Linked DNA regions of Homo sapiens: all the other regions are linked to region 1. Evidence: promoter capture Hi-C in 16 types of primary human blood cells and fetal thymus (Javierre and others, 2016). All regions are on one chromosome and are shown on one strand. Each heading gives the region's core, a stretch centred on a gene start or on the middle of the fragment in contact. The rest is flanking DNA. Distances are from core to core; before and after follow the strand shown. Region 1 holds the start of KLF8 (KLF transcription factor 8). Region 2 holds the start of MAGED2 (MAGE family member D2). Region 3 has its middle 1.8 kb from the start of ZXDB. Region 4 has its middle 30 kb from the start of TRO. Region 5 has its middle 33 kb from the start of PAGE2. Region 6 has its middle 21 kb from the start of VCF2. Region 7 holds the start of VCF2 (VCP nuclear cofactor family member 2).

What was found. Contacts are between HindIII fragments. The CHiCAGO score rates a contact against its expected background, and 5 or more counts as called.
Region 2: a contact is called between the fragment with the promoter of MAGED2 here and the fragment with the promoter of KLF8 in region 1, in 1 of 17 cell types (total B cells). The highest score is 5.1, in total B cells.
Region 3: a fragment that was not itself captured here is called in contact with the fragment with the promoter of KLF8 in region 1 in 1 of 17 cell types (M0 macrophages); the score reaches 5.3 in M0 macrophages.
Region 4: a contact is called between a fragment that was not itself captured here and the fragment with the promoter of KLF8 in region 1, in 2 of 17 cell types (naive CD4 T cells and naive CD8 T cells). The highest score is 5.7, in naive CD4 T cells.
Region 5: a fragment that was not itself captured here is called in contact with the fragment with the promoter of KLF8 in region 1 in 1 of 17 cell types (naive CD8 T cells); the score reaches 8.6 in naive CD8 T cells.
Region 6: a contact is called between a fragment that was not itself captured here and the fragment with the promoter of KLF8 in region 1, in 1 of 17 cell types (M0 macrophages). The highest score is 6.1, in M0 macrophages.
Region 7: the fragment with the promoter of VCF2 here is called in contact with the fragment with the promoter of KLF8 in region 1 in 9 of 17 cell types (M2 macrophages, M0 macrophages, M1 macrophages and 6 more); the score reaches 9.5 in M2 macrophages.

The regions. Positions count from the first base shown.
Region 1 is chrX:56,230,854-56,234,141 of GRCh38, reverse strand. It overlaps KLF8 (KLF transcription factor 8), which reads right to left and starts at 1,786. Exons shown (of 6, transcript NM_007250.5): 1 at 801-1,786. The coding sequence starts at 807. The HindIII fragment of the contact is 3,283 bases long and covers 376-3,288 here.
Region 2 is chrX:54,805,707-54,808,994 of GRCh38, reverse strand. MAGED2 (MAGE family member D2) reads right to left here and starts at 1,250. Exons shown (of 13, transcript NM_177433.3): 1 at 1,193-1,250. The HindIII fragment of the contact is 6,434 bases long and covers 1-3,288 here.
Region 3 is chrX:57,588,584-57,591,871 of GRCh38, reverse strand. No RefSeq gene overlaps it. Among named protein-coding and RNA genes, the nearest start is that of ZXDB, 1.8 kb to the left of the region's middle. The HindIII fragment of the contact is 979 bases long and covers 1,012-1,990 here.
Region 4 is chrX:54,888,972-54,892,259 of GRCh38, reverse strand. No RefSeq gene overlaps it. Among named protein-coding and RNA genes, the nearest start is that of TRO, 30 kb to the left of the region's middle. The HindIII fragment of the contact is 2,103 bases long and covers 775-2,877 here.
Region 5 is chrX:55,119,927-55,123,214 of GRCh38, reverse strand. No RefSeq gene overlaps it. Among named protein-coding and RNA genes, the nearest start is that of PAGE2, 33 kb to the right of the region's middle. The HindIII fragment of the contact is 3,739 bases long and covers 1-3,288 here.
Region 6 is chrX:55,138,181-55,141,468 of GRCh38, reverse strand. It overlaps the pseudogene LOC100421179. Among named protein-coding and RNA genes, the nearest start is that of VCF2, 21 kb to the left of the region's middle. The HindIII fragment of the contact is 6,628 bases long and covers 1-3,288 here.
Region 7 is chrX:55,159,363-55,162,650 of GRCh38, reverse strand. It overlaps VCF2 (VCP nuclear cofactor family member 2), which reads left to right and starts at 1,466. Exons shown (of 3, transcript NM_001166701.4): 1 at 1,466-1,514. The coding sequence starts at 1,495. RefSeq lists enhancers at 677-1,177, 1,178-1,678, 1,504-1,803. The HindIII fragment of the contact is 5,872 bases long and covers 1-3,288 here.

The sequences.
Region 1 (3,288 bases), core at 537-3,036:
GACATGGTGCCTTTGGCCACCTGTTTGGATGTGATTTATTTTTTCCCAAATTCTTAGGGTTAAAAAAAAAAGCCCACAAAAAGACAGCTCCGCCAAGTGGCTAAACAAATGGATTCACTTCAGCAATCACAGCAACTCGGCCCAGTCAGTCTTCCACCTACACAGACGAACCAACTGCCTTGGCCACGTCTTAAAGGGCCGGAGCAGAGCCTAGGCTCTGGCTTCCTTCTCCAACCAAGCTCAGCCCCTCCTTAAAGAGCTGGCACGCCCAAAGCAGCTCCTCCCCCGCAGCTGCTTCCAGGCCTCACTCTGTGCCTCCAATAGCCTAACTTTGCACCTTAAACCACTGTCCCCTCCTCCTTCTTTTCAGAAGCTTCTCTAGGTACCCGCTATGGCTTCAGGGGGTTACCTGGGAGCTTTGGCCTTGTGAATCCTGTTCTCTCTGGTTGTGACTTTGGCTGTGTGGGGTTAAGTCAAAGACAATCCTTACCGCTTAAGGAGTATTGGGAGTGCCGAGCCAGGGGAGACTAGACTAGACAAATCCATCCATTCTTGCCCCCTTTCACTTCTTCCACCAAGCTCTCTCCTCTCCTTCTTGGCCTTTCTTTGCCCAGCCCTTTAGCAAAGTCATTTTCCCTTGAGTTTCATTTGATTCCACATAGTGTTCTTAACCTTCCGCTCCCGCCCCCACTGCTGAAACCCCAAGTGGGGTGTGTGGGGGGAGCAGGGGGACTGGGAGGGGGATAGAATCTAGACGAAAGAGGTGGGAGTGGGTGGGTATTAGTCCCAGAGTCACTTACCGACCATGTCACTAGCTGAGGACTCCTGAAGTGTCCAGAACTCATGCCGTCCTCCGGGAGGCTCATACTCCTGAGCTGATCGCAAGAGAGCTGTTCCCCTCACACCCGCCCCATTCTGACATAGCGCAGGGCGACGCGTTCTCGTCTTCTCGTTCTTGGGCCCCCACTCCCCTATTTCTCCGGGCTGGAAAATGAGGAGGGGGTCGAAAGGGGAGGGAGTCGATTCAGACCCAGCTGGGCCACTCTCGGAACAAGGGAAACAAAGCTCTCAAGCATCCAACCCAAAAATCAGGGGCCGGCAGAGTAGACTTCCTAAAAAGAATCCTCCCCCCTGCAGCTTTTCCTTGGACAAAAATAAAGTGGGTTCGCTGGGCCGAAGTGGCCAGAGCTTAAGGTCCTCCGTTCCCCTTTTACCTCTACCAATTCAGTTCCGGCCAAGCCCGCTCTCCACCCATCCTCTGAACTCCACACACCCTTTAAAAGGAGAGGGCCGGGGGTGGGGGCTATGAAAACCAACCCAACCCCCAAAGCGCTACTTGAACATAAAGTTGAGGCGGAGAAGAAATCCTTCAAGACAGGAACCCACGAGGAGATACCACAAGAGGATCCCTTCACCGCCGCCGTTGCCGCCGCACACCCCAGCGCCTTCCTAAAAAGAAAGAAGGGAGGAAAAAAATGCCGACGATTGGTAGAATCATAGAGAAGAACACCAGCCCCAGGGCAGGGGCTTCAGCGAAAAATGGCAGCAACTCGTGCGGGTCCTCTGGGGCGGGGTTTCTTGGAGGCACCTAGCTGCCCCACGGGGTACCTCGCGCCCCACGCGAGTCAGAACCTAAAGTGCTCTCTGGGCAACCTGAGTGGGTAGAGTGATTCCGTCTTTCTCTGGCCCTGCTAGGCCCAAAGGAGAGGTGTGACTATCGTGAGGACTCCACCTAGGGTGGAGTTCCTTAAAAAGGACAGGCGGCCGCTAGAGGAGAGTGCAAAGTGGGAGGAGGTGGAGAAGGGTGGGGCTGAGAAGGAGGAGGGAGGAAGGAGGGGGTGGGGCGGGGCCCTGGGCCGACAGAGCTGGCCTCGCCTCCGGCGGCCGCCTCCCTCAGCCTCCAGCAGCGGCAGGTATAATTCCAATCAATTTCACTTCCTTATCTGTCCCAAAATTAAGGCTTGCAAGCACACTGCTTGATTACCTATTTACTCCGGTTATGCTAATTCTCCAGGGGAGGGTGGTGAAACGGGTACTGGGATTGGGGCTGGGGGCTGTCTAAGAGGGAAAGGAGAAAACAAAAAAGCTGACAACTGGAAGCGATATTTATCCTCCTACCTCTCCATGGTAACACGAACAAGGACAGCGAGGTCACAGTGTCTTCTCAGGGAGGAAGCTAAAAGGAACGGAGATTGGAGCTTGGTGCATTTTCTAGCAAGAGATAAGCCAAGGAGGTGAGGGCGAAGGAGTAGGTGGGGAAGAAGAAGGAGTTGAAGATGATCTGTGAATACAGCGTGGCCCAGCAGGGAGACTTAAGAAAGGCTTTCTCAGTCTCCCAGATACCAGACCTCTAAGAATAGAGTTCTCAACCCCCTGAGACCGCCTCTCAGCCAGGCATTGGCGAAGATCCCCGTAAAGCTGAATCCACAGGATAGGAGCCATGTTTCCAGGATTTCTTTACGCTTGCCTGAAAGTCTCTCTCTAGCTCATTTTAATGGGAGGCCAGGAAGTCACAAGCAACCACAGCCCATTTTCAGTGCCTCTTCCCTACCACAATTCTTTTAAAGAGGAGGAAAAAGAAGAGAGACAAGAAACAAAGCAGAGGGAGGAAGAGCAAAGAGACAGGAGAAATAATAATATCTGCCATGTATTCAGCACCTAATATGGGCAAGTCCCTGAGCCAGGTGCTTTTACATTCAACATTTCCCCATTTAGTCCCAATAACAACCCTGGGAACTAGGTACTGTTATATTCTCTGTGCCCTTTATTTAAAAAAATAAGGAAACGGAAGGCCTCAGCCCAGTACTTTCGAACACATAGGTCTACTTACTTAGTTGATATTTCTGCCTGAATGTCTTCTGTGCATCTCATCTACCTTCCTTTCCCCAAAACACTCTGTTCTTCCTCCTGTAGTTCACCAACTACCTGAATGGCACCACCATACATCCAAGGCAGCACCCTGGAACTCATCCTTTAACCTGCTGTGATCTGGCCTTTGTCTGCCTCTCAAGCAGCAGAGATTTTGCTGTTCTCCTGGGCTTTACCTGGATTACAAATCCCTGGGAATTCCAAGCTGTTTCCAATCTCTATGCCTTGGGTTGCTTTACTTTCTCTGACTGAAATAGACTAAGCTCTCTGTCCACCTTTTTTTTTCTTGCATGTCCTTCCAATGAATCTGTCCACTTTCTTGAAAGGACTAACTCAAGGTCATCTCCCCTCCTTACTTAATTTCTTCAGGCAAAACTGACCATTGCTTCCTCTGTGCCCTTCTCTACCTCGGGGCACATA
Region 2 (3,288 bases), core at 1-2,500, 1.4 Mb after region 1:
GCCCCGCCCGCTTTCCCAGCACGAGCCCTTTCTTTGATGTCCACCGTGCACATGCGCATTCAGCAGCTGGCTCTTCTCAGTGCTGGCCCTTCTCAACACGCCCCTTTCTAGCGAAACATAGTGCGCATGCGCAATGGTCGTGGTCTCAGTCTGGCACTCTGCCCCAACACACGCCCCTCTCCAGGTCCGCAGTACCATTCGGTCCCGCCCCCTGCCCAACAAGCCTTCCTCCAAAATTGTCGCAGTGTCTGGTGGACCCGGCCCCTCCCCTACTCACGCCCTACAGAGTCCAGTGTCTCTTGGCCCCGCCCTTCTTCCTAACACGCCCCCCTCCAAACAGGCGCATCTTGGTTCCGCCCCTTCCCTATTACACCCCCTCCTCAAATAAATACTGAGCTAGTGATTCCATCTTGGGCCCGGCCAAACCGGGTCCAGTCCCCTCCCTTCCCAGCCGGATGGATCCGGTACGATCCGGTCCTTAAGGCAGGTTTTCTCCAGATCCCAGAGGGTGGGGCCGACCCCTAGCGGGGCTCTCATCCAAAAGCCGACCCGGCTGCTCACCTCGTCCTCCTACAATTCCCGAGTGCGTCCACTCACTCCAAGCCCCTCCGAAACTCGGAGACTGCCCTCCCCTCTCTAGGCCGGAAGTGGTCCCGCCCCTTTCCGCCTCCCTAGGGGGCCTCCGTCCCAGCCTGTCTGCCCCTCCCCCGCTCCCTGCTCCTCATTCCTTATGCCCCCCTCCGTATTCCCTTAGCCTGGCTCCCTACTCCCTATTCCTACCTCACATTTCCTATTTACTCCAGAATTCCTTCTTCCCATTTCTTACATCCTCCTCCGTGTTACGTTTGCACACCCTGCCCCTCAGTATTCCTTAATCCCTCTCTGCATCCCCGATTCTCTTCTCTGGATCTTCACTCCCCCTCAGTGTTCCCCTCCCTCCTTGTATTCCTCGTCCCCCTCCCAACATTCCTGGTTCCCCGTTTTTCTCCCCTCCTCCCTCCGCTAGTCTCTGCTCCCAGTCTGTACAGCCTACTACTTTCTCAGTCGTCCTCATTGCCTACACCCCACTCCAGGTCACCTCTGCTTCAGCTGCAGTGGTGCAGTAAGAATTGCTCATCTGCCTGGCTATGGGTTCGAGGGGTCTGGAACCACTGTCTGACCTCCATAAAACCCCAATATCAACGCCCCTCACCTTGTCCTCCAGCGAGTTCGGGATGCGTCTGCCTTCTCTAAGTCCCTCTCGAAGTCTCAGCCTCCTGGACTAGAGCTGCAGACAGCCCAACCCAGCCCAGCCCCTTTCCGCAGCCCCCTGCCACCCCCCCTCGCCTTCCTCGGGGGTGGGGCAATGGGGCCCCGCTCAGGGCTGTCTGACGCCAAAGCCCATGTTTATGCCACTGTACCAGGCTCAGTCTGAAGCTCTTCCAACTCAAACCGCCCCCTGAAAGCAAGTCATTCATTGAATTTATTTTTATATCTTCATTTTTTCTTATTACAAAGGTAATATGTTGTTCTTTTGTTGTTGTTGTAAAAATTCAAACAATGCAGTAATATATAACACACCAATGAAAGGCCACTCATCTCCCAGAAATAACCACTATTAACATTTTGCTATCCAGATTTTTTTTCTATTCGTATACTAATTATTCAGGTTCTCTCTCCGACAAATGGTACACTATACATACCTTCTGTTCTGCGACCTGTTTTTTTCCAGTTATATATAAAACATCTTTCCGTTAGTGCACATTTTTCTAAACAGCTGCATGATCTTTTCTTGCATAGATGTCCCATAATTTATTGAACCAGTCCAGTACACATGTACATTTAGATTGCTTGGTGCACTTTTTGTTATTTATGGTATTTTTTGCTAGCTCAAATGCTACAAAAAAGTCTTCCATTTTGATGCAAAATTTGTCAACTTACTCCTAAAAAGTAAATGGATAACATTCCCGCCAGCAATGTCTCTCCTGTACATGTCACATATTACAAATATTTTTCATGTTATTTATGATAATTTTTGCCAAACAAAAATGTTTAATTATTATGTAGTCAAATATATCCATTTTTCCTTCATCACAACTGGATTCTGCTGCTTGCTTAAAGATGCTTTTCACACTCCTATAACAAACCCCGTTTTTTTTTTCAAGCACTTTTGTGGCTTTATTATTTACATTTAGATGTTTGATCATTTCAAAATTTATTTTCTATACGGATTCAGCTTGATTACTCTTCAAAATCATAGTCTCTTACCTCTACATCATGTGCAAACTAATCCATCTTTTCCCTCTCTGCTTTGAAATGGCACCTCTATCACATAATAAATTCACATAACCAATTGGATCTGTTCAAGAGAACAAAATAAGATGTAAAATAATAGGAAATAGACAAATCATCATTAATTACTGAATATATAAATGCAGACCTGGAAAACCCAAGAGCATCAACTAAAAAGTTATTAGAAACCATAATAAAATTCAGCACAACTGTTAGTTGCAGAAATAATATTCAGTGCCTTTCCACATATAAATGTAATTCAAATGGACACAAGTCTTCTGCTTTATGTGGTCACCTTTTACTATGTAAATAACATATAATGAATCCCTGTGTTCCATGGATAATTCAAGATAGACAAACACACAAATTTCTTGCATATTCAAGGCAGGCTTCTGTTTTCCTGTCTTTTCTCTTTCTCTGAATTATTGCTTTCTCCAAGTGTGTGATATCAGTTCACCATGTTCTTGCCTCCTAGATTTTCTCCCTTATCCACACTAGACATAGCCCCTCCTTTTCTTCTACTTCTGGCATCTCAAATTCCCCACCCCTTCCAAATCATGGCAAGTTGGCAAGTTTAGAATGCCAAGATGAGGACTTTGGTGTTGATCCTGAGAGCACCCAGGAGTTACTAAAGAATTCTAGGCAAGGATACAGCATAGGTTTGTGTTTTAGAAAGAACACCTAGCTGCTATATGGAGTGTGGATTAGGTGTTGTCTTGGAAACAGGGAGAGTGCTTATGACTTTTGTAGTCATCTAGGTAAGCAATGATTGTGCTTTGGCCTAGAGTGGTGGCAGATAGTGAGAAGTGATTGAATCGAGGAGATAGTAAAGAAGTAAAAAGTAACTGGACTTGAGTAACTGGATTGTGAAGAGAAGGGCAAGGAGGAGGGGAGTGTCAAAGGGAACTCTTGGCGATCTGATTTGAGAGATTGTGTGAATGGTAACCCCTTTCACTGAGATCAGGAATACTGAAGGAAGAGCGGGTTTGAGGAGCAGGTTAGACAAGAACTGAACAT
Region 3 (3,288 bases), core at 252-2,751, 1.4 Mb before region 1:
TGGGTCTCTGGAACAGAATAGAAAGCCCAGAGGTAGAGCCTGGTATGCATAAATACGTTCTACAGTTAATATAAGTAAGTAATTAAGGGGGTCTTCTGAGGTAATGGGGAAATGACGACAGCTTGTTCAGTAATGCTGTGGAACACCTAGGTATCTATCCGCTGGAAGCAATTTTAATCCATGACTCATTGTATATACCCAAATAAACACACCCCAGCCCCTCCCAGTGTTAGATATGTTGCTTCGTACTTTCTGTGTGTTAAAATTTGCTGGCTGGCTGGCTGGCTGGACTGATGGATGAAAGACAATTCCTGAGAGAAAAAACTGTCTCTGTGTCAGCATTAAACCACCATAGCGCTGGCAGTTCTGCTGAAAATGTCCTTCCCCTTCCCACCTCCCCGCGGGACAACTTCCATATTCACAATTATCTTGAGCAAAGTCTTCGGTACAATTTGCCGCATAGTTCAAATTTTGTCTTGCTGATACAGACATTAGAATGAGTGAGAGATGCGGCCAAAACAGGTTAGCACTCTTCAGCCTAGAAATTCAAAGTCTGGAGGATGAAACAATTTACACTGAAATCTGGAAAAAACCCAACCTTCTCCTGGCTTCTCCCTATACAGTGCACAACCTAAACCAACTTTTGCCCTTCCACCATCGGTTGTACTGTGATAAATTTCATGTCTGCTCTCACAGCACAATGAGGGCATTCATTCCTCAGTTTACTCTGCCTTCTCCAGCACGTGGAGGTCTCTGGGCAGGAGTTTCAGTTAAATGTGTTTAGGTTAAATCCTGAGTCACTGCAATGGATTCTGCCAAGTAAAAGGCACAGACGATCTTGTCCAATCAACCTGGTGTACCTGTTCACATTTAAGTGTGGTGGCCCAGGCTTGCTGGGCCTGTGGTGCCTAATGATCTTATTAATGATGATGACAATCCTTCATTTTGTCCGTTACGACTGAGTTGGGAATTGACACAAATATAGGGTGAAATATCTGAGATAAGAAAGCTTAGAGTAATGACTAGATTGGTGGTGGTGGGGGAGCGGGGTGTAACCTGTTGTTTAAATACTCCCAGCTCTCTCGCCCTCTTTTAATGACAGTGGACACTTGGTCTCTTGAAAATCAAGCTATTCATCCATAACTATTTGAACCTCATCAAAATGTCTACTCCACATACTTTTCTTTCTATTACTTTTTCTGGTGGAAGCATTTTTCAAATCTGAGGTATAGAAGAGTGCATAAAACATATTTGTATCGTTTAGATTATTTTACAAAAGCAGACACCTGTGTAACCAGGACCAAGGTCAAGCAATAGACCACTGCCAGCCTTCCAGAATACAGCCGCTGTACTCCTCCCAATCACAACCCACACTCTCCTATATGAATATAGTCATTGCCCTGACTTTGTAATAATCATTTCACTGCTTTCCTTTATAGCTTTATCACTTTTGTACGCATCCGTAAACAATAGAGTTGATACGAAGTTGTATAAATGGAATCATACGGCAAGTTTCCTTTTATAACTTGTTTCTTTCACTCTGTATTATACTTGAGACTCATCCATGTTGTTCATAATAGTTATAAGTAAGTAGATCCTTTGTCTCCATCGACTGTCGTTCCAGCATATGCTTATAGCAAAGTGATTATGGTATGATTATACCACTCCATTCTACAGCAGATGAACATTAGGATTGCTTCTATTTTTCAGCGATTATTATGAACATTCTTGCACATTTCTCATGGGACACATGTGTAAAAATCTCTCTAGGGTATATATCCAAGAATAGAATCACAGGGCCATAGGGTATGGATATCCTGAGCTTTACTAGATGATGCCAAATTGTTCTCTGTAGTGATTGGGCAAGCTGTCAATCCCACCAGCAGCACAGAGAGCCCCTACTGCTCCACATCTTCACCCACACCAAGTATTGCCAGAATTTAAATTTTGCCAGTCTACTGGTGGGCAATACCCAAATTACTAGTAAGCTTTAGCACATTTTCGTGTTTATGAGCCTTTTGGAGTGTCTACTCCGAAGAAGGCCTATTCAAATTTACCTCTTTTAACCCATGTTTCTATTCTATTGTTCATCTAGTACTTACTGACTTAATGAGCCTGTTAAATATTTTAAATACTAGTCCATACCTGTGGCCAAAATATTCCCTTGTTCTGTTTGTATTTCCCATTGCTTTGTGCTGTGTTTTGTGAACAGAAGATCTTAATTATAATATAGTCAAATTCATCATTCTTTTCCTGATGGTTAGTGTGTTTTTGTTTTAAGAAATCTGTTTTAAGAAATCTTTTCTGTTTTAAGAAACCCTGGGCCATGAAAGCGTTTTCTATATTTTCTTCCAAAATACGTATGCTATTGCCCTTCACAGTCAGGTCTTAATCCACCTGCAATTGATGTTTGTATATTGTGTTGAGTGGGGTTCCATTTATTTATTTATTTATTTATTTGTTTGAATATCCAGTTTTCTCAGTGAACCACTTATTGAAAAGTCTGCCTTTTGCCAACTGATTTACAGTGCCATAAATCAAGTATCTACCCATATGTGGGCTAGTTCCTATACTCGCTATTAAGTGCTCGGCCCTATTTGTTTGAAATATCACACTGTCTTAATTACTACAGATCCATAGTCAATTCTGATATTTGGATAAGGCAGTAAATTCTACATCTTTCTTCAAAAGTGTCTTGGCTACTTTTGGCCCATTTCAATTCCATTTAAATTATAAACTCATCATAAAAACTTCAACCAACAGCTAGTTTGGGGTTCTAATTCATATTGTGCTGATATTTTAGATTTGACTTCTCAATATTGAAAGTTTGGTTCATGGCTTTGGTCTGTCTCTCCTTTTAATAAGGTCTCCTTTAATGTGCCCAAGTAATACTTTATATTTTTCCCAAAAGGCAACTTTTTTGTCCTAGGCACTTCATATTGTGCAAATCCTGTTTGGAATTTTTACTGTCTAAATTTGTTTCTGGTAAATAAATAGGATGCAATTGACTTTTGTTCATTAAGATTTTATCCTACAAGCGTATAAACTCTTCTATTGATTCTAATAATTTGTCTGTAATACTTTGTGGAATTTTATGTACACTGTCATATCATCTGTAAATAGTGCCAGTCTTTCTTCTTCCTTTCCAAATATCTTATTTCTTTTTCTTGCTCTACTGCTCTGTCTGGGACCCCATCACCACCCCCAGTAAACTATTGAATAGAAGTGGTGATAGTGGACATCCTTACTTGATGAAGCTCTTAAAGAGAAAGCTTTCAGTGATTCTCC
Region 4 (3,288 bases), core at 577-3,076, 1.3 Mb after region 1:
TGTGTCTATTTTTGTACCAGTACCATGCTGTTTTGGTTATTGTAGCCCTGTAGTATAGTTTGAAGCCTCCTGCTTTGTTCTTTTTGCTTAGGATTGTCGTAGCTATTCAGGATCTATTTGGTTCCATATCAATTTTAAAATAGTTTTTTTTGGTTCTGTGAAGAATGTCGTTGGTAATTTGACAGGAATAGCATTGAATTTGTAAATTGCTTTGGGCGATAAGTCCATTTTAATATTGATTATTCCTATCCATGAGCACAGAATGTTTTTCCATTTGTTTGTGTCATCTCTAATTTCTTTGAAGAATGCTTTGTAATTCTCATTTTAGAGACTTTTCACATCCCTGGTTAGCTGTATTTCTAAGAATTTTATTTTTTGTGTATGGTAATTGTGAATGGGATTGCGTTCCTGATTTAGCTGTTGGCTAGTTAACCAGCCATACCAATGCCTCAGAACACAAGAATAAGACTCCTACTGCCACCTCGTGGCAGTATACTCTAAAGGGGAGGCTCTCATTAGTTTGGAGTGAAGAAATGCTTTCTCCCTCTATGCCATGCTGTATCATGTCCCTATGTATGTTGTATACTTCTACACATGCCATCTCTTCTAACCAGAACCATCCTTCCCTGAACCTTGTCGATTTAATGGATATTAGGTCTCATTTGTGTGTTATCTCAACCCAAGTAACCATTTCTCTATGAAGCCTTTTCTGTCTCTCCATCTTTCTCAACACAAGTAGAAATAACCTCTTCTTTCTTTGTGTTCCAATAAGCTTAAGTTCCAATAATCCACGTACAGATGTCTACGTGTTACCTAGACCAATTTACTACTGATTTTTTTTCACATACGTCCCTTCTCAAAAACTTAGCTGATCAAACATATGAATCTACGTGTGACTAATCTTAGGGTCTCCAAACTACAAAGCAAAAGGCAGACACAGATTATGAAAGCTCAATGATTGCTCTATGGCATGTTTTATGGATCTATGGAAAAAATGTGTGTATATATTTACATATGTGTGTGTAGATTTACCTATACACACATATATACTCAATTTGTAAATGTTTTAGTCAATTATTTTATGTCATTAATAATTTTTTTACTAGACATGCTCTATTTTGAAATAAGAATTAAAATTGTTAGTATTCCTTTCTTTTTTTTTTTTAACTTTAAGTGCCGGGATACATGTGCAGAACCTGCAGGTTTGTTACATAGGTATACGTGTGCCATGATGGTTTCCTGCACCTATTAACCAGTCATCGAGGTTCCCTCCCCTCGCCTCCCACCCACCAATAGGCCCTGGTGAGTGTTGTTCCCCTTCCTGAGTCCATGTGTTCTCATTGTTCAACTCCCATTTATGAGAGAGAACATAAGGAATTTGGTTTTCTCTTCCTGTGTTGGTTTGCTGAGAATGACGGCTTCCAGCTTCATCCATGTCCCTGCAAAGGACATAATCTCATTTCTTTTTATGGCTGCATAGTATTCCATGGTGTATATGTGGCACATTTTCTTTATACAGTCTATCATTGATGGGCATTTGGGTTGGTTCCAAGCCATTGATTTTTTGAAGGGTTTTTCATGTCTCTCTCTCCTTCAGTTCTGCTCTGATCTTAGTTATTTCTTGTCTTCTGCTAGCTTTGGATTTGTTTGCTCTTGCTCCTCTAGTTCTTTTAGTTGTGATGTTAGGATTTTGATTTGAGATCTTTCGAGCTTTCTGATGTGGGCATTTAGTGCTTTAAATTTCCCTCTTAACACTGCTTTAGCTTCATCCCACAGATTCTGGTATGTTGTCTCTTTGTTCTCAATGGTTTCAAAGAACTTCGTTATTTCTGCATTAATTTCATTATTTACCCAGGAGTCATTCAGAAGCAGGTTGTTCAATTTTCATGTAGTTGTGCGGTTTTGAGTGAATTTCTTAATCTGAGTTCTAATTTGATTGCACTGTGGTCTGAGAGACAGTGTGTTATTATTTCAGTTCTTTTGCAATTGTTGAGGAGTGTTTTTCTTTCAATTATGTGGTTGATTTTAGAATAAGTGCCATGTGGCACTGAAAAGAATGTATATTCTGTTAATTTGGGGTGGAGAATTCTGTAGATATCTATTAGGTCCACTTGATTCAGAGCTGAGTTCATGTCCTGGATATCTTTGTTAATTTTCTGTCTTGTTGATCTGTCTAATATTGACAGTGGGGTGTTAGTCTCCCACTATTATTGTGTGTGAGTCTAAGTCTCTTTGTAGATCTCTAAGAACTTGTTTTATTAATCTTGGTGCTCCTGTATTGGGTGGATATATATTTAGGATAATTAGCTTTTTTTGTTGAATTGACCCCTTTACCATTATGTAATGCCCTTCTCTTTTTTTATCTTTGTTGGTTTCAAGTTTGTTTTATCAGAGACTAGGATTGCAACCCCTGCTTTTTTTTTATTTCCATTTGCTTGGTAAATTTTCCTCCATTCCTTTATTTTGAGCCTATGTGTGTCTTTGCACATCTCCTGAATACAGCACATTGATGGGTCTTGACTCTTTATCCAATTTGCCAATCTGTGTCTTTTAATTGGGGCTTTTAGCTCATGTAAATTTAAGGTTAATATTGTTATGTGTGAGTTTGATCCTGTCATCTTGATGCTATATGGTTATTTTGCACACTAATTGATGCAGTTTCTTCATAGTGTCGTTGGTCTTTATATTTTGGTGTGTTTATTGCTTCTCAGCCTTTTGGCTAAGATCAAGTGTATATTTTGGTGTTTTTTCGCAGTGGCTGGTACTGGTTTTTCCTTTCCATATTTAGTGCTCTTGCAAGGCAGGCCTGGTGGTGATGAAATCCCTCAGTATTTGCTTGTCTGAAAGGGATCCTATTTCTCCTTCACTTATGAAGCTTAGTTTGGCTGGATATGAAATTCTGGGTTGAAAATTCTTTTCTTTAAGAATATTGAATATTGCCCACCCCTCTCTTCTGGCTTGCAGGGTTTCTGCTGAGAGGTCTGCTGTTAGTCTGATCAGCTTCCCTTTGTAAGTGACCTGGACTTTCTCTCTGGCTGCCCTTAATATTTTTTCCTTCATTTCAACCTTGGAGAATTGATTATTATCTGTCTTGGGGTTGGTCTTCTCATGGAGTATCTTAGTGGTGTTCTCTGTATTTCCTGAATTTGAATGTTGGCCTATCTTGCCAGGTTTGGGAAGTTCTCCTGGATAAAATCCTGAAGTATGTTTTCCAACTTGGTTCCATTCTCTCCATCCTTTTCAGGTACTCCAATCAATTGTAGGTTCGGTCTTTTTACATAGTCCCAT
Region 5 (3,288 bases), core at 534-3,033, 1.1 Mb after region 1:
AAAAGTTCCATGGTGCTTTGGTCTGCAAATCAACTGTCAGCTCTGGAGAAGAGATCTGTCTTGGAGCAGCACATAGTTTGAAGAACTTGTCCTGTAGGGAATGTCTGGTAAGAGGGAAGTGAAGGGTTATATTTGTATTTCTATGGACTAAGTAGGAAATGGAGAGCTGGGGAAATGAGAAAAGAGAGAGAGAGGAAAAAATAATTAAACAACCTCTAAAAAAATGAAGGTTCTCAGTAACAAAGCTGAGCTCCTGGCCATGAAGGGAAGGGAAGTCAGACATGCCCCGTTAAACCCCTCTCCCTTTTATGGTTAAGACACAGCAGCTTCCCAGCATTAATGTTAAAACAGAGATCATAAGACTGACAGAATGGACTCTTTGTGGCAACAAGATACCAAACTACAAACAAGACCTAAAGCCATGCCAGACAAGAGTAACAAACTCTGTTCTAACTGCTACAAGGTGTTTCTTTTTCTCTAGCAGCCAAAGGAGCACTGGTCTAGAGATAAGCAATATTAAAATAATTGTAGCTTATCACCAGATACTAACTGACCTCCTGTTTCACAAGCCATAATGACAACTTTGATTGGACAAGAGACTGATTTCAGGAACTTTCTCCAGATAAGAAGACCACCAATCATGGACTGGTTCTGGTCAGTTTACAGAGGCTTCCCACTTGAGTGCTTTTGCATCCTGAGAAGACCTTTTGACATATAGGGCCTAATTGTAATATGTTTAAATGTTAACATCTTCACCACAAGGTTAACATGGGTCATATGTTACATACGTTTGTTCAATAAGCATGCATCAGGACCACCTTCATGAATATTTCTAGCTTCTTCTGTAACCTGATGAATATGTATATTTAGCCAATCTGTTCAGAATAAAGCACCTTACCCCAACCCCTCCTTCTTTGAAGTGCACCTCTCTGATCTTTGCCAGAGGCTATGCTTCCCAGCCTGTGAGAAGGCCACCTTGCAGGCTGTAACCCTTTATAAGAAATAGTCTCCTTTTTCCAAATTTATAATCCTGTTTTTTTTTACATTAACAATACTTAATCATAGAATTATCCCCCACTTCCTGACGGTGTTCAATTAGAGAAAAGCCCCACTTTTTGAGTCCTCCTGCAAATCACCTAACATAAGCCCAAGTCCTATAGAAAAGATTCTAAGAAGTACATTCTAGCACCATATTAATGAGATGCCCCAATGTGCTCCGTGGTGTATGTTTTCTCCCTCCGTGAGACTTTGTTCAAGGTGTTCCTCACGTTCTTTGTCTGGAGGGTACCAGCAGAAGATACATGATGGGTTTACATAGCACAAATGATTAAAGTCTCATAACTTACGCCTGTTTGGCACTTTGTTTTAAAATATTTCAGAGTATCATTTTGTTTTATGCCAAGAGATTTTTCTAAAATTAAGTATGGCATCATCATAAAACAGTAGAACTGAAGTGCAGGGAAAGCAGCAACTGTAAAAGCGACTCTTGAATTGCAGGGTTCTAGGAAATGCTATCCTAAGTCATACTCTGCTAAGAATTATGTCATCTTTTGTGTGGAGTTCACGGAAAAGTTAATCAGGTTCTCATCGTCATCCCTGAATCTTACAGCTGACTAGAAGTGTTTGCAGGATAACATAAATATACAAACTCTGGATTGGAATGGGAAGATTGAGGGGAGGTTTCTGTCAGTCTTACTTCCAAATGAAGTTAGTTAATTCAATAAACAGGAACTCAGTGACATTTAGCAGGTTTCATCCAGCCAACTGATGCTGGATCTGCAAAGACCAATTAAACATAGTTCTTGCCCTCAAGGTGTCATAGGAGGCAGAAAGAAATTATTTAGGTAGACATGATAAAGCCAGTCCCTGGCAGAAAACTCCTTTTAACAAAAAGCAGCTCAAAAATAGCTCCCTTTCTAACCTTATGCAATTCAAAGAAATCACTTCTCTTCTAACAACAAGCAACCTGAAAGAGCAGACAGTAAAACACAGATAAGACAGCTCAGACACAGAAGGAGGTGGGGGAAGTCTCCTGGGTAATTATCAAACTTCACACTTATACAATGGGCCCCAGTAAAACAGTGGGCCTTAATAAGGACATTCTTTTCCCTTTAGGCACACTAAGCTAGAGAAGCTAAAAACACACTCCAGGGGATGCCTGCAGCTGCAAGAAGATGTACTGAAACAGACACAGAAACTCTCCCTCCCAGATAAGCAGGACAAAGAAACACAGACTAAGAGTCAGCCTATGTGGTCAGGGAATGGGATAAGAGCTGATAAAAAAAAAAAACAAAACAAAACAAAAACTCTGCTCTGTACAGATAGCACACCTCGTCCTAACTAAACTGTCAGGCCCTAGGAGGATAAGACATCCCCTCTTCACAAGCCCCCTCCTCGCTGCTAGCCCATTTATAAAAACCCTGACATTTTTACTACAACTTGGCAACTGGCTCAGGACCCCTCTCTGTGATGGAGAGCTGTTCTTTCCTTTTGCCTATTAAACTCCTTCTCCAAACTCACCCTGTCTGTGTGTGTGTCTGCGATCTCGATCTCCTTGGCCATGAGACCAAGAACCTTGGTATTTACCCCAGACAACGAGGCTGCTTCAAAGGGTCTCACAGTCTCCTGGGAGAGGAGATCCATTAATTCAATCCAGAGTTACCTGTGATGGCCTATGGTGTGCTGGGCACTGTGCTAGCTGCTGTGCATACAACAGTGATCAAAAGAGGCAGAGGAATCCACCCTGGAGGAGTCTACGTTCTCTGAGGAGTGACTTTAGGGGAGTGACTGACAATTTACAAGCACTGAAAGACATTAATAAGCAATGGCTCTACTAATCCAAACTTGATTCTGTCTCTGTAAGTAGCTTTGAAAAGTCCCATATGCTACAAATTCTGTATCACATGCTATATTTCCATTATTCCCTATTCTTACATGCCCACACCAGAGTCACTGAGCTGAGTAGGGCACACCATGATGCGATTGTGATTACATATCCACCAAAAAACACCCCTGATGGGCCAAGAAAATACAACAGTTCTGTACATGTTACATGAAGAGGCTAGGCTGTGGAGAATTTGTTACCTAGGGGAGCCCTTGTGGTAGCTTCCTCCAGTGGACAGCAAACCCCCACGACTATACTTAAGCTATACTAGCTTGTCTCTCTATTCATTCTCATTTTCTTTGAAAACTCCCAGGAATGTTTTATTCTTCTCTAACTGCATTTAAGCTGTAAACAGGAAACCTACAATAATCATATAATAATAACCACAAAACCCACATAGCTGA
Region 6 (3,288 bases), core at 386-2,885, 1.1 Mb after region 1:
CCCAGCACTTTGGGAGGCCGAGGCGGGCGGATCACGAGGTCAGGAGATTGAGACCATCCTGGCTAACACAGTGAAACCCCGTCTCTACTAAAAAATACAAAAAAATTAGCCAGGCATGGTGGCGGGCGCCTGGGGCAGGAGAATGGTGTGAACCCAGGAGGCGGAGCTTGCAGTGAGCCGAGATTGCACCACTGCACTCCAGCCTGGGTGACAGAGCAAGACTCCATCTCAAAAAAAAAAGAAAAGAAAAGAAATACCCAAAACTGGGTAATTTATAAAGGAAAGAGGTTTAATTGACTCACAGTTCTGCATGGCTGGGGAGGCCTCAGGAAACTTACAATCATGGAAGAAGGGGAATGGCAGAAAGGGAATGGCAGAAGGGGAAGCAGACACCTTCTCCACAAAGCAGCAGGAGGGAATGTGATTGTGTGAAGGAGGAAATGTCAAACACTCATAAAACCATCAGATCTCATAATTCATTCACTATCATGAGAACAGCAGGAGGGAATATGAGTGTGTGAAGGAGGAAATGTCAAACACTCATAAAACCATCAGATCTCATAATTCATTCACTATCATGAGAACAGCATGAGGGAAACTGCCCCCATGATCCAATCACCTCCCACCGGGTCCCTCTCTCAACACATGGGGATTATTGGGATTACAGTTAAAGGTGAGATTTGGGTGGGGATAAAACCAAACCATATCTTTCCGCCCTGGCCCCTCCCAAATCTCATGTCCTCACATTTCTTTTTTTTTTTTTCTTTTTCTTTTTCTTTTTTTTTTTTTCTTGTTATGAGACAGTCTCACTCTGTCACCCGGCCTGGAGTGCAGTGGCACAATCTCGGCTCACTGCAACCTCCACCTCCCGGGTTAAAGCAAGTCTCCTGCCTCAGTCTCCTCAGTAGCTGAGACTACAGGCACCCAACACCACACCTGGCTCATTTTTGTATTTTTAGTAGAGACAGGGTTTTACCATGTTGGCCAGACTGGTCTCAAACTCCTAACCTCAAGTGATCTGCCTGCCTTGGCTGGGATTACAGGCGTGAGTCACCACTCCTGTCCTCACATTTCAAAACACAATCTTTTGTTCCCAGCAGTCCCCCAAAGTCCTAACTCATTTCAGCATTAACCCAAAAGTCCAAAGTTTCATCTGAGACAAGGCAAGTCCCTTCCACCTAGGAGCCTGTAAAATTAAAAGCAAGTTAGTTATTTCCAAGATACAATGGGAGCACAGGCATTGAATAAATACTTCCATTCTGAGTGGGAGAAATTGGCCAAAACAAAGGGGCTACAGGCCCCATGCAAGTCTAAAATCCAGTGAGGCAGTCATTAAATCTTAAAGTTCCAAAATAATCTCCCTTGACTCCATGTCTCACATCCAGGGCACACCGATGCAAAGGATGGGCTCCCATGGCCTTGGGCAGCTCTGCCCCTGTGGCTTTGCAGGATACAGCCCCCTGCCCTGGCTGCTTTCACAGCTGGCATTGAGTGTCTGTGGCTTTTCCAGGTGTACTATGCAAGCTGTCAGTACATCTACCATTGTGGGGTCTGGAAGATGGTGACTCTCTTCTCATAGCTCCACTAGTCAGTGCCCCAGTGGGGACTCTGTGTGGGGGCTCCAGCCCCTCATTTAGCCTTCGCACTGCCCCAGCAGAGGTCCTCCATGAGGGCTTCACCCCTGCAGCAAACTTCTCCCTGGACATCCAGGCATTTCCATACATCCTCTGAAATCTAGGTGGAGGTTCCCAAACCACAATTCTGGACTTCCATGCACCTGCAGGCCCAACACCATGTGGAAGCCACCAAGGCTTGGGGCTTGCACCCTCTGAAGCAACAGCCTGAGATGTACCTTGGCCCCTTGTAGCCACAACTGGAGCTGGAGTAGCTAGGACACAGGGCACCAAGTTCTGAGGCTGCACAGAGCAGGGGGACCCTGGGACTGGCCCATGAAGCCATTTTTCCCTGCTAGGCCTTCAGGCCTGTGATGGGAGGTGCTGCTGCCAAGATGTCTGAAATGCCCTGGAGACATTTTCCCCGTTGTCTTGGCAATTAACATTTGGTTCCTCATTACTTATGCAAACTTCTGCAGCTGGCTTGAATTTCTCCCCAGAAAATGGTTTTTAATTTTCTATCACATCGTCAGGCTGCAAATTTTCCAAACATTTAGGCTCTGCTTCCCTTTTAAACATAAGTTCCAATTTCATATCAACTCTCTCAAGTTCAAAGTTCCACAGATCTCTAGGGCAGGAGCAACATGCCACCAGCCTCTTTGCTAAAGCATAGCAAGATTGACCTTTGCTCCAGTTCCCATTGAGTTCCTCATCTCCATCTGAGACTACTTCAGCCTGGACTTCATTGTCCAAATCATTATGAGAATTTTGGTCAAAAGCATTCAACAAGTCTCTAGGAAGTTCCAAACTTTCCCACATCTTTCTGTCTTCTCTCTGAGCCCTCCAAACTGTTCCAGCCTCTGCCTGTTATGCAGTTCCAAAGTTGCTTCCACATTTTCAGGTATCTTGATAACAGGGCCCCACTCTCCGCAGTACCAATTCCTCTTTTAGTCCATTCTCACACTGCTATAAAGAAGTACCTGAGACTGGGTAATTTATAAAGGAAAGAGGTTTAATTGACTCACAGTTCCACATGGCTGAGTAGGCCTCATGGAACTTACAGTCGTGACAGAAGAGGAAGCAGGCATCTTCTTCATAAGGCAACAGGAGAGTGTGAGTGTGTGAAGGAGGAAATGTCAAACACTTATAAAACCATCAGATCTCGTGAGAACCCACTCACTATTATGAGAACATCATGGGGGGACCACTCCCATGATCAAATCACCTCCCACTGGGTCCCTCCCTTAACATGGGGATTATGAGGATTACAATTCAAGATGAGATTTGGGTGGGGACACAGCCAAACCGTTTCAGATGGGAACACTGTTTCCCCAGTGATTGACAGCATCTGACCATGGATAGAACTATGTGTACTTAAATATGGTTGTGGACATCTTGTCATCCTTGCATAATCTCTTCAATGCTTTGCAGCTCTGCCCACCTGCAGTACAAGATGTGCTTGATGAATGCTAGGGAGTGATTCTGGAGCAGCATTTCCTGCACAGTCCCAGTCTCTATAAATCTGTCAATGGCAGAGTTTTTAACCTGCATAGTGAGGACCTTCTTGGGTTGGGAGGAGTCATCAGAGGGAAAGTAAGCCAGAAAGTTATCCAGTTTAACCTTCAACTTAAAATCTAGGGTTGAAGGGAAGCTCTGCTCACAAGGACTAACAGCT
Region 7 (3,288 bases), core at 217-2,716, 1.1 Mb after region 1:
TGGACGGAAAATTACTAAGAGGAAACACCACGGGTAAGGGGGTATTGTGGCTAAATTGAACTAACAGGATTGTTGGTGAAGGTGGGCCAGGGTGACTAGACATCACCTGGGGGATGAGGAACCTAACTGAGATATTGATGATGGGAAATTCTAACTAAACTGACTTAGCAGGATTCTTGTTAAAATTGCACAATGCAGCGACAAACATGGCAGTCTAAAAGTCCCCTGTCCAGGGCTGTCTACTCCACAGCCTCGGCTGCAGGGTCACCTAGCCCCTAGCTGGGTTAGGCTTCCTTTATGGCATGATCTTTAGTTCTTGAATCAGCCACTTTCCACATCTTCCCTTCCATCCTCAGGGAATGCAGCCCCCTGTGAGATCACCTACTTAACAGCAAGAACCAGGATCAGCCTAAACTCTAGCACTCCCTTTGCCAACTTTTTAGATAATAAATACAGATAGAGGAACATGATAATTCAGGAGAAAGCATAACTGCAAAGGATGATCCCTTAAGAAGGTGGAAGGCATAGGATCCAGGTGAAGGGCCTGGTCTCAAGTAGGATCCTGTCTCTTCCTCCAGGGAAGCAGCCAAGATTATAAGTGCAGGTCTACTGCTGTTGGGAAGTGGTGTGAATTCTTCTCTGATTGCTTCTATTTTCTCAAGGGAATATCAGTGAATATCATGAGAAAATTGGGTGCTGGTGCTTGTGGAGGGATCTTGTAAGTAGACTAGACAGAGAAGGTACACTTGTGGAGGGTGTACATTGTTTGTCTACTTGGCGGCGGGGGGACTGCCAGGAGAGTAGGGAGGAGAGAGTTAATAGCTTTGGGTAAGCTGGCTAAGGAAGGTGAATGGTGAGGAACGCGGTTGTGGTTAGTGGAGAGGAGGCCTCCTTGAGGCTAAAGGCTGTGGATGCTGGGGCACTGGAAGAGGTAGCTGTTAGGACACGATCGGGTGCTGCCCGTTATGAGAATGGGGGATGCAAGAAATGGACATCGTGGAGGGGCGCGGTCTTTCCTGAGGCCCAGGGCATGACCGCGGGCAGAAGAGACTTAAGTGGGGGGAAGGAGACCCCCCCGAGGACGGAGAGGCGCCGGCCACGGCCTGGTCAGCCCCGGGGGCGCTGAGGTCGCCGAGGAGGATCAGCGGTGTGAGGGCTGCGAGGACAGGGCGTGTGCCACGTGAGAAGCGTGTTCAGAGGCTGGCTGGGTGGGAGGAGAATGTCCATGGGATTGGCACAGGTCTCGAACATGGGGCGGCTCGGGCAGTCGCGCAGCAGAGCCTGACCCTCAGCGGATCGTCCCTCAGGCGTCAGCTCCCAACTGCAGGGAAGGGAGCCTGCGGCGGACCCAGAGGAAACAGGAGCCGACCTCCCCGGGCTCCGATGCGCAGGCCCAGAGCCCGTCAATCCTTGGCCAGCCCCGCCCTCCGGGCTGCGTTTTTCCGGCGGCGCAGGAACTTCCTGCGCGGTTGCTATGGTTCCGAGGGCAGGACTATGGGAGGCTGCCCTGTACGGTAAGTTCGTCGGGGCCTTTCCGGCCGGTACCAGTCCGAGCTCTGGTCCCCACGGTCATCACGCTTTGCTTTCTCAGCCAAGATCTCGGGGCTCAGGGCGGAAACGCAGCGGATATGTATTTTCTTCCGGGGTTGGTGGCGCTCGGCTCTCATGACCTGCAGGTGACAGTGTTGGCCGGTGGCGCGGCCCTGCTTGCCTCGTGCCCCGCCCTTCGTGCTTGAAAAAAAATCCCGCGAAGCCTTCTCCGAAAGAACATGCTGGTTCTTTGGTTGTCAGTGCCTTACAAGCCCTGGAGGCGGGGGTGAGGTGGGGATGTGGTCCCTCGCGAAAACTCAGTCAGTGGACAATAGCATTCTGTTTTTCAAATTGGCATTTCCTCGGTGAGGCTGCTAGGTACCCTAGCAACTGGTATTTCTGTTTCTCTGATTGGTTTTGTCATCTTTCTCCACGTGTTACTGGGGTTCTATGGACCTTTATCAATGTATTCTTTCATTACAAACGTCTCTGAATCTCATGGTAGAAAACTTGGTTAGACTGTTAAAGCGTAATAAAGGAAACCAATCTTATCCACAGTCCGATCACCCAGCCGTGACCATTAATCATATTCTGTGATAAATTTCCTTAGATGTTTTTCATTCGTAAAGTTGCATTTTAAAAAATGAGATTAACATTGTTTCATGAACATTCCGCTTTTTAAACTCAGCTTCACACTTTGAAAAATCATTTTCATAGTATTACTCTGTTTTAAAAACAATGCAAACGTATTGTAAGCTGTTGAAAGTTTCAGTAAAACTTGAGCGCAAAATACTCAAATACTCAAAATACCATGATCAAAGACAAACATCACCATGCTCCCTAATGAAGGCAGAGCTGTGGCATGTGTTTGTTTCACTCTTTTATCCTGGCACCTGGAGGAGTGCCTAGCACTTAGTGGATGCTCAATAAACATTGTGAAATAAAATAATATTTACACCCGGTCATTTTTTCTTTATATATAATCAATCATTTCATAATGGAGTGTAATATAGGAGCAGTTTTCTACGTGATTTTTTATTTGGCATTTTGTACTCAGTACTCAGTCTCCTAGAGTCTCCTAGTACTCAGTCTCCTAGAGATGAGAATTGATTAAAGAGTAATGAAATTATAAAAATGAGTAAACTCAGCCATTCTTAGGAGTACCAAAAACTCAAAAGTAAGTCTCTAAGCAAATGTCTGGTTAATAATAGAGTGCTGTGAAAACTATGTCAAACGCTGCAATCTGATTACTTATTGACAAGGAACTTGAAACTGAAGATGTAATCTTACCAATCATTGAAAACAATTTTGAGAAAAGAATGTTTCAAGGAAGTAATCAGCCACAATCTCATGGTGACAATCTAGTGGAGTAACTATGTCATAATATTAGCTGGTATAGCAACAGTAAGTGCCTAACCACATTCAGCATACAAGAAATATCTCTTCAGTGTCGCTACACCACTGGCATAAGAACTTAAGAGTAGACACTGGCAGACACACATGTCTTACGATCTTATTGAAGGAGTTAAAAATCACTTACCCTGGAATTGTAACTTCATGGAGTCAAAACAATGAAACTAATTAGGTAGATTTTGAAAACTTAGCTATTAAATTCCTCATATTCTTTATTTTCAAGGATCATTTAAGGTTATGAAAATTATTTCTAGAAATGAAATGCACAGCTTGGCTTTACTTAGAGTTCTTGTATTACATTTTTTTATCTTCATGCCTGGTAATGGAGTACTTATATGACTTTTA